Linked DNA regions of Homo sapiens: all the other regions are linked to region 1. Evidence: promoter capture Hi-C in 16 types of primary human blood cells and fetal thymus (Javierre and others, 2016). All regions are on one chromosome and are shown on one strand. Each heading gives the region's core, a stretch centred on a gene start or on the middle of the fragment in contact. The rest is flanking DNA. Distances are from core to core; before and after follow the strand shown.

Evidence for each region. Contacts are between HindIII fragments. The CHiCAGO score rates a contact against its expected background, and 5 or more counts as called.
Region 2: a contact is called between a fragment that was not itself captured here and the fragment with the promoter of DYNLT3 in region 1, in 1 of 17 cell types (total B cells). The highest score is 5.2, in total B cells.
Region 3: a fragment that was not itself captured here is called in contact with the fragment with the promoter of DYNLT3 in region 1 in 1 of 17 cell types (activated CD4 T cells); the score reaches 5.0 in activated CD4 T cells.

The regions. Positions count from the first base shown.
Region 1 is chrX:37,845,829-37,849,197 of GRCh38, forward strand. It overlaps DYNLT3 (dynein light chain Tctex-type 3), which reads right to left and starts at 1,743. Exons shown (of 5, transcript NM_006520.3): 1 at 1,653-1,743; 2 at 489-530. The coding sequence starts at 1,682. RefSeq lists a silencer at 1,407-1,516. The HindIII fragment of the contact is 5,769 bases long and covers 458-3,369 here.
Region 2 is chrX:37,729,099-37,732,467 of GRCh38, forward strand. XK (X-linked Kx blood group antigen, Kell and VPS13A binding protein) reads left to right here. Exons shown (of 3, transcript NM_021083.4): 3 at 1-3,032. Among named protein-coding and RNA genes, the nearest start is that of XK, 45 kb to the left of the region's middle. The HindIII fragment of the contact is 203 bases long and covers 1,450-1,652 here.
Region 3 is chrX:37,776,249-37,779,617 of GRCh38, forward strand. No RefSeq gene overlaps it. Among named protein-coding and RNA genes, the nearest start is that of CYBB, 2.1 kb to the right of the region's middle. The HindIII fragment of the contact is 1,220 bases long and covers 994-2,213 here.

The DNA.
Region 1 (3,369 bases), core at 493-2,992:
ACAAAATATAGAAGGACCCCTATAAAGAGTTAGTGGATAAATATTTAAAATCTTGTTCTTGGCCGGGTGTGGTGGTTCACGCCTGCAATCCCAGCACTTTGGGAGGCCAAGGCGGGTGGATCACCGGAGGTCAGGAATTCGAAACCAGCCTGACCAATAAGGTGAAACCCCGTCTCTACTAAAAATACAAAAATTGGATGGGTGTGGTGGCGGGCGCCTGTAGACCCAGCTACTCGGGAGGCTGAGACAGGAGAATTGCTTGAACCCAGGAGGTGGAGGTTGCAGTGAGCTGAGATCACACCACTGTTCTCCAGCATGGGTGACAGAGCGAGACTCCATCTCAAAAAACAATAAAATAAAATAAAACAAAACAAAATATTCTTCTTTTAACAGTAAGGTTTCTAAGTTTGTGCTGAAACTCAAAATATAGCTTTTAAAAATCTCCACCAGTGCAGCAAGCTTCAAGAGAAACAAAATGTATGACTCACCTCTTTGACAATATTGTGGGCTTCCTCAGCATTGAAGCCAACCTAAAGGGAAAACAAAAGGTAAAGCTGCTTTCAACACAGGCTTACAAGTATGACGCTACACAGAATATCCTAGGCTGGCCTAGACAGGTGTTAAAGTGTTAAAGGGCATCAGGTCTACAGAAGGGGCCAATCTTGCCCCTAAACACTTAAAAATACTGAATGCTTTCCCTACCTACCTCCCGTGAGGTCTGGGGCAGAGCCTGCAAGTCTACATTTTTTTTTAAAAAAGTGCTTTATACTGGTGATTCTAATGAACATCCTAGATTAAGAATCATTGTATTGTAAAACGTAGGAAATAAGCAAGAGGTGACTATGAGGATGTTATGTGTCATAAGAATATAGAAATGGTTTCAGCTAAGTGAGAGAATGAAGTGGTCCATATGAAGAGAATGCTTAGTAGACTATTTTCAATTTTGTTTTTAACTTATGCTAGGCAAAAATTTCTAGGCAAAAATTCCTTTCCCAAATTAAAGATTATGAAAATACTTGATAACTCAAGATTAATATCACTTTAGTACTATAAAGTGGTCTGACAACTTAGTCTTTTCTTTGGAGTCCCCATCAATAACAGGGAGATAACAACTGACATCATGGGTTTCTGGTGAGGGTTGGGAAAGCCTGAGTCAGTAAGCAAGGGCTCGTAATCCATAAAGCACCTCCTTGCCTAATCCTGGCAAGCATTACCGGGAGCGGGAATGGCAGTGCCACCAGGACCCCGAGACTCCGAGCCATGGGGGCTGCAGCACCCGCGCTGAGGAAGCCAAGGGACGGAGGCAGCAGCGGGAAGACCCGTTTTCGAGGCCCGCCCGGTAGGAGGGCGGCGCCCGTCACCCCATGCCCACTCCTCGCACCCAAGTCAGGCCTCGTCCTCCCAACCCTGCCCCGACCCCACCGTCTGATCCGCGCGCTCCTGGCCACCCCTCCCACCCCGAATCTCAGGACTTTGGGGTGGGGAGAACGGGTCGGGCGGGGCGGATCCCGGGCCCAGGGGAGAGGACCCGGGCTCGGAGGACGCCGCACCCCAACTCTTGGGACCGCCCTCGCTGGGAGACCACCCGGCAAGAGCCCCGCGCAGAGGAAGGCGGGAGTGGGGGGCGCTCCCAGGTAGCCAAGGGGCGGTACCTCGTCGCAGTGGCGATGGTACTCCTCCATGGTAGCGCCGGCTCTCCCTGGGGCGGAGCGACACGCCGGTAGAGCACCGCGGCCGCGCACTGGCCTCCGGGGAGGCCCCACCCCCGTTTATGGCCTAGGGCCTTTCCCTACGCAATCCCCGCCTTTGTGTCGCAGTGGCGTCACCTGGCAGCGCTGGGCGGGCTTCGGGCAACGCCAGGCGTCACTTCAGGCCACGCACTTTTTCCTCGCTTCCTCTGCCCTTTCTGGAAACAAGGGATGAATGTAAAGAACTGGGAATGGCGCCAGTGTGGATCAGATGGGGTGACCTAGTGGCAGTTAGTCTAGACTCCGCACTAGTGGTTGAGTGCCCACTGCTGTGATTACTTGCACGTATTTGTTCATTCACCATCATGTGGCACATAAATGTAGTTAATTTCGTGGTAAACCAGCCACTTTGATTTGTCCACTTACTAGCTATGTTACTTGGAAAAATTCACCTCCCACAGCTTCAGTTTTCTCATATGGAAACTTACCATCATACCTATTTCACTACTGGTTGTAAGGATCTGATGAGAAGCTGTATACACGGCTCCTAAAGTAGATGCTTCTCAACAAGAGAACAATGACTACATTTTAAAATAAATGTAGTAATTTTAAATTAGTAATTTTAAAATAAATGTAGTAATTTTAAATTAGTAATTTTAAAATAAATTACTAATTTCCAGATGATCCTAGACACTTCCTCAAAACCTCACAATAAGTCAGAGGAGTTAGTTCTTCCATCACTGCTTTTATCAAGATGAAACTGAGGTATAGAGAATTTAATTTGCCCAAGGTCATACAGCCAGTAGGGTGTAGAAAAGGGACTTGAGCTCAAGTAGTCTGATAGCAGAGCCCAAGCTCTTAACCACTGTATTACTTTCCTATTGCTACTGTAACAAATTACCGTAAATGTAGTGCCTTAAAGAAACACAGTCCTGTTCTCTTACAGTTCTGTTACCAGTGTAGGGTGTCCAGGTTCTTGGCTCTTTGAACAAAGAATTGGACAAAACGCACAAACAAAGCAAGGAAAGAATGAAGCAACAAAAGCAGAGATTTATTGAAAACGAAAGTACACTCTACAGGGTGGGAGCGGGCAGAGAAGCCGCTCAAGGGCCGGGATCCAGAATCTTCTCTGGTCCAAATACCCCCTAGAGATTTCCCATTGGCCACTTGGTGTGCACCCCATGTAAATGAAGTAGTGGCCCACAATCAGAGGCTGAAGTTACAAAGGCCACACTCCTATGCAAACGTCTGATTGGTTGCAAGAAAGCAACCATCAGAGGCTAAAGTGAAGTTACAAAGTTGCACTTCTATTCAAACAAAGATTTGGCCCATAATCAGTTTGATTGGTTGCAGACAGCAACCAATCAGAGGCTGAAGTGAAGTTACAAAGTTCCACTCCTGTGCAAATGTCTGATTGGTTGCTTTTTGCTCTTTGGTTGCAAAAAGCAACCAATCAGAGGTACTTTAAATTTCCCATCTGCCCTGCAGAAAAGGTGGGGATTTGCAAAGGGAATAGCCTCTGGTCCTTTTGTTACTTAGGCATGGAAGGTATGGAAGGTTAGGGTTTTCCTTTTTTTTTTTTTTTTGAGACGGAGTTTCACTCTTGCTGCCCAGGCCGGAGTGCAATGGCGCGATCTCGGCTCACCCACGGCAACCTCCGCCTCTCGGGTTCAAGCGATTC
Region 2 (3,369 bases), core at 301-2,800, 120 kb before region 1:
ATGGATGCAGAAATGAGTGATAAATTTGGCCATGAAAGCCCTGGAATTTTAGGAAAGTTGTGATTCTTTGATATGTTGATGAAATTCTGGATCAGGAGGGGTGTTAAAACATCAAAATGATGGCGACTTGTATAAGTAGAATTCTTACCATCTTACTCCTGCCTCCCCATTCCTTGCCTGTCAGGACCATTTTAGAAGAGTTACCTTGGTTAACTTAAGGGTTTTTTAGAAAACCCCACAGAAATCTCTCACCCAGTTCAGGTGTATAGGGAATTTTCATTTTCATTATTTCAAGGAATAGAGTTTTCCTCACTACCACTTGTAATTAGAGATTGACTTCAGAAACTTTTTCTAAATTATAAAGACGGAATGACCAGAAAATTTTTGTCTTTCATGGAATGCAATTTGACTTGGCATAATTGTGAGTTAATTTGATAAAGATCTCCAGTTGTATCCTCTGACACCCTTTAATGTTCTATATAATTTTTCCTTTAATCGGAGACCCTATTTGTTTCATTAAAGAGGATTGGGTAGCATATCCTCAATTATCTTGGAAAAATGCGTAGATCTAGTGCCATTATTTCTACCATTAAAATCTTGAAAGCGAAATACTTGAAAAGAGGTGACCATAAAGATCACACCAATTTAGAATGAATATTAAAGTCTGAGAAATTTACAAAAGGGACTCTATGGACTCGATTTTACCATATGGAATAGGGATCCACTTCTCTGTTAACCTACAAAACGTATTTATCTGGCCATTGCACTTCGGATAATTTTCATTTTTAATTCCTCTTGGTGTCAAATTTTTAAGTAATTTCATGCACACAGGAGAAAATGCAATTTGATAATCAGTTTCCACTACATTCGGAGGTCAAGAAAGCAGTATATATTCTTTCACAAGGCATCCATACTGTTTAATATTTATAGAGTTCATAGAAATACATCAATAAGCTCCTAAATTATAGAGCCTCAATTTTGGTTTTTCTCATTTGAAATGTTTTTGATTTATCAATATTTGTGGTTTAACTTTGTGGGGGTGTCCAGGCAGTAGATCATTTTTTGTCTATTTTTAACCAAATAAGAATAACACTCAAGACTATGTTCTCCATCCCAACACATCACTTACCACTTGCACTATTCTTAATAGGCCTAAAATAGTGAGCATATATAATCAAAATAATACTTCATACAACATATACTTCCATGCACTCTTCATGTAATCACATATGTGCATAGATACACAATCGTATTACATAAAACACCCTTGAAAATATATGACTTTGAATAAAATAAAGCTACCATGTTAATACATCATTTTTTGTTTCTTCCTAATTAACAAAAGGGCTCTATAATGATTAGGAGAGCTGTAAGGCCATTCTTTAGTCATTCCAAGTGTATATTTGTATCACACCAGTTACTTGTGTTCATTGACACCAAATATTTTCAAGCTTTTTGTGAGAAAGAGATTCTTGCCTTGAGGCTCTGCAGTGGCAAATGGTAGGGGCAATAGCGCTCCCTTTTCACCTGAAATGCCTTCAGCTCAGGCCTTGGGAGTGAGGTGTGGGAGTAGCCACCAGCCTCCCACTGACTAGGCATGTTAGGAATTAGACAAGGATGGAGAGACTGGTTTTTTCCAGCCTTGGTTTGGAAGCTTGTCTCAAAAACCATTACAAAATCTTAACCTTCAAATACATTCTAAATCACTTTAATTTAGAAGATAGGTGAGCAACTTGAGTGATCCCAAACCAAACTAACAGTGCTGGTTTGTCCGACACCCAAAGCCCACTTCACACATTTATAAGGACAGAGATTTGGTAACTCATTTGGGTATTTTGTCAGTTTTAACCCTTAATATACAGGTATCCCAGCTTTGGGCACATGTATGTCCATTCACTTTCAGGAAGGGGTGTCAGTACTTTCTTTCTGTGTGGTGAAAACATAAGCCATGGTGAACTGATAATTTTTGTTTTTAAATTATTTATATTACTGAATTGGCAAAATTACAGTTCACACTGCAGAGCTAGGTTGTCCTATTGGCATAAAACAAACCAGCAACTTTTCTCATGTGTTTGGAGTTAAAATGTGTTTTTCAGTTATAATTTCAATTTTTAAATTTCTTGGTGCTTTGTCTAATTAATTACATCCCATAACTTGTCAGGATAGTTGCTCCAACTGAATTGCTATCATTTGGCTGGATGGGGGTGAAGTATGTCTTCAAAATATATTGAAGTAAGTTCATCAAACATGTTTAGACTTCCTCTCATTGCTGGAGACAGCCCAGTGTAGAGATTGGCACTTCCCTGTCCAGCACTACAACTTAATTGCTCTATGCCTCAGTTTCCCCATAATACCCTTTTCCAACCTACCTCACAAGGTTATCAGAAAGATCAAATTAAATAATAGATGTGAAAATGCTTTGAAAATGTTTTTAAGTGCTATGCATATTTATAGAGTTATTATAGTTATTCAAATCCATAAGCAGGTTATTTTTATTTTTTTACTGTTTGAAAAGAAATAAGTAGTGTCATTCATATGAGTTCCTGAGTGGATATGCGAATCTTTGGTCTTCTCGACAGGTGCCCTTTCTCTTACCACTAGTTGCTTACAAAAATAGCACCCAAACACATGGCACTTGGAAGAAAAAGACCCACTGAATCTGAGAAAGTACTTTCTGGTGGCAAATGAATTTATCATTTTAGTATAGTTTTCGATAAAGGATATAGCAACATCTTTTGATAATTGTGCTTTACAACTTGAATGCTGATTCAAGGCATTATTTGGATGTGAGTTTAATCTTTTCAGCCTTGTAAATGGGAAAATATATATTAAAATTGATTGTCAAATACAGCATTTCTTTGGAAACCACCTTAAAACATTAGTGCTATGGTTATGAGTGTATGTGCCAGTACTTACCAGTCAATGCATTGTGGATATGAGCTTTCGTTGACTGCTTCTCTGCAGTCGTTGATGCTAATAAATATTGTCCTGTTTCTTCATATAATAAATTAATTTTTCAATTTCTCCTTGTATTTCATTCTTTATACAATTCTTACATGGCCTTTTTACTTCAGGGACTATTTTTAAAACAGAAATTTTAAAATTGTTTCATTGTAACTGATTATAGTTTTATAAACTCACCTGGAAATTACTTCTGTAGGCTGAGAAATTTGAGAGTGCTAAGATTCAGCCTTGCAGAACAACAACAGTCCATGAAAACCTCTCTGATTGTTTTATAGACATTTACTCCACTTGTTAAAATTACACTGCTGGATACTAAGATTCTGTTCAGTTGTCCATCAGTTGCCATGCACAATACAAAAAAGAGAGGCAATACACATCTCTTCTAGACAAACATAAATATATACT
Region 3 (3,369 bases), core at 354-2,853, 70 kb before region 1:
GAGCACAGGCTTCAGGAGGCAGGTGGAAAAGTATGAGAAAGGCTTGAAAATTTAAGTGGGATAAAGGAAGATGATCCAATAGGCAGAGAAAGAGAACAGTGGGGATAAGTACAGAGGAAAAGACTGATGAGTTCCAAGAGCTTATGGTGAAGCAGTCATCTTTGTAGAGGAGTTTGAGAGTGGCAGAGATGAGGAGAGAAAGTGGATTTTTAAATATGTTTTATTTTTCTTTGGGTATAAAGGCCTCACTTCTTTGAATACATGAAAAAAATAAGTACAGATATGAGTAACTTTTTTGTTTCAGTCAAAAAACAGAAACCACTGTATTTCAACAGGGGGAATTTCATACCAGGAAATTTGTTACATGGATTATGGAAAAGTAGAGAATCCCAACATGGGGTGCAGAGGCAACATAATATAAAGATGAACAACTACAGGAAGTGGTTACCACCCTAGGGGTTAGAGGGAAACTAGGAGGTGGTGGTGTAACTTGAGTTCAGAAGCCAGGGCCACCTGGCAGAATCTTGAGCTACAGTGGTGATGGCTAGGACTAGCTCATGCCACAGGGGGAGAGGCTGACTGGTGAAAGTTGGAGCCTCAGTGCAGATGCAGCCCCTTCATGGATGCCACTTAAAGCAGAAAGCTCAGGGAAGAAACACTATGGCTTATCTCCTGCTATCCATTCTCCAATTCAGCTAAACATACTAGAAGCCAGAGGGCCAAGGAGCCTGGCAATACAATTTTCTCTGAAACACAGTAGAGCAAGGAAAGTGGGGAATAGACCTGAGAGCAAGAGGCAAATAATTGGCACATGTTTTAATTGTCTAAGTGTGTTTCTTTGAATTCATCTCTGTGTGGAACAGAACCACGAGACTAACTTCTCTTTATGTGGTTTACACATGGTCTAAGAGCCATAGCATTCTAAAAAGTACCTTTCCTTGAATATTAAGAAGTGAAAAACACTACTACTTTGCTAATTATCGTAATTACAGAAGCTTCCCAAGTAGTTCATGGACAACAATCAAAAGAGTACTTATGTCTTTTTTTTCCTTCTTTTGTTCCCTTTCACTCCTCCCATTTCTTTTTTTTTTACCTCCATATTAGCTATAACTGCTGTACAACTACCCTTGTGCAATTAGTCAATATTGATCTCATAATGGGGTTACTATCCTACCTTCCTGTCTCTTTCATGTCTTGAAGAGTGGGTACCAACAAGGGAAATGATGCTACATTTAGCTTTTGGCATCTACCATATCTGACATATCTTTGTGCTGACCCTGTTTACTCACTTAGCATATAGGATGTCATGTTTGCCTGGAAACATGATTGCCATCTAAACATTTTGGTATATTTCTTGTATTTTGTCATGTTTTCCTATAGTTGTATGTGGAGTGATTTAATGTAGGGTTTTTAGTGTAGGCATAGTAAGGCTTTTTTCTAGTATCTTGGTCAAAAGTATAACCAAATTTCTTGGGTTTTAAATCCCAACTCTACTATTTGCTAGTTATGTGAACTTGGCCAAGTAACTGAACTGCTCTGGAACTCAGTTTCCTTATCTGTAAATATAATCATAATAATAGAATCTGCTTTACAGTGGTTGAGTTGTGAGGATCAAATGAATTGATGTGTGTGTGTTTGCATGTGTGTCTATATGTGTAATACACACATATATGCAGTCATATCACTTAACTATGGGGGATTTGTTCTGAGAAATGTATCCTTAGGTGATTTTGTTGTTGTGTGAAAATCATAGAGTGTATTTACATAAACCTGATGGTATAGTCTACTACACGCCTAGGCTACATGGTATAGCCTATGGCTGCTAGGCTACAAACCTTATCGTTTTTTATTGTACTGAATACTGTCAGAGATTCTAACACAATGGTATCTAACCATAGTTAACCATAGAAAATAGACAATAAAAATAAAGTATAAAAGATTAAAAATGGTACACCTGTATAAGGCACTTACCATGAGTAGAGCTTGGAGAACTAGAAGTTACTCTATGTGTCAGTGAGTGAGTGGTGAATGGATAGGAAGGCCTAGAACATTTTTGTACACTCCTATAGATTTTATGAACACTGTACACTTAGGCTATACTAAATATGCAAAACATTTTGTTTTTTCAATAATGAAATAAATTTAGCTTACTGTAACTTTTTATTTATAAACTTTTGCTTTTTTAATTTCTTGACTCTTTTGTAATAACCCTAAGCTTAAAACAAAAAAAATTTTACAGCTGTACAAAAATGTTTTAATATCCATATCTAGAAGCTTTATTCTGTTTTTAAATTTTTTATTTTTATATTTTACCTTTAAAACATTTTTGTTAAAAGCTAAGACACAAACATACACATTAGCCTAGGCCCACACAAAGTCAGGATCATTAATATCACTGTCTTCCACCTCCACATTTTGCCCCACTGGACAGTCTTCAAGGGCACTAACATGCATGAAGCTGTCATCTATGACAGCAATGCATTCTTCTGGAATACCTTCTGAAGGACCTGCCTGAGATTCTTTTACAGTTAACTTTTTTATAAGTAGGAGTATACTCTAAAATAATGATTAAAAGTATAGTCTAGTAAATAAATGAACCAGTAACATAGTCATCTATTTTTACTATCAAGTACTATGTAATGTACATAATTGTATGTGCTATACTTTTACAACTGGCAGCTCAGTAGGTTTGTTTACACCAGCATTGCCACAAACACATGAGTAATGTGTTATGCTACAATGTCACTAGATGGTAGGAATTTTTCAGCACACACACACAAGTATATATATTATATATTATATTATATATTATATATATATGTATATATATATATATATATATAGAGAGAGAGAGAGAGAGAGAGAGAGAGAGAGATGGAGTCTTGCTCTGTCGCCCAGGCTGGGGTGCAATGACACAATCTCGGCTCACTGCAACCTGACTCCCAGGTTCAAGTGATTCTCCTGCCTCAGCCTCCTGAGTAGCTGGGACTACAGGTGCCCACCACCATGCCCAGCTAATTTTTGTATTTTTAGTAGAGACGGGGTTTCACCATGTTGGCCAGATTGGTCCCAAACTCCTGACCTCAAGTGATCCACCCCACTCAGCCTCTCAAAGTGCTGGGATTACAGGCGTGAGCCACCGTGCCTGGCCAACACCATTATAATCTTATGGGACCACTGTCATACATGTGGTTCATCATTGGCCAAAGCATCTGTATTTATATATGTATGTTTCAAATTATATATATATATATATATATATATATATATATATATATGATAGCTATACATGAACATACACACACACATATATAGACATATATAGCACATAAAATTGGCACATATTAAGCATTTTGTAAATATCAACCA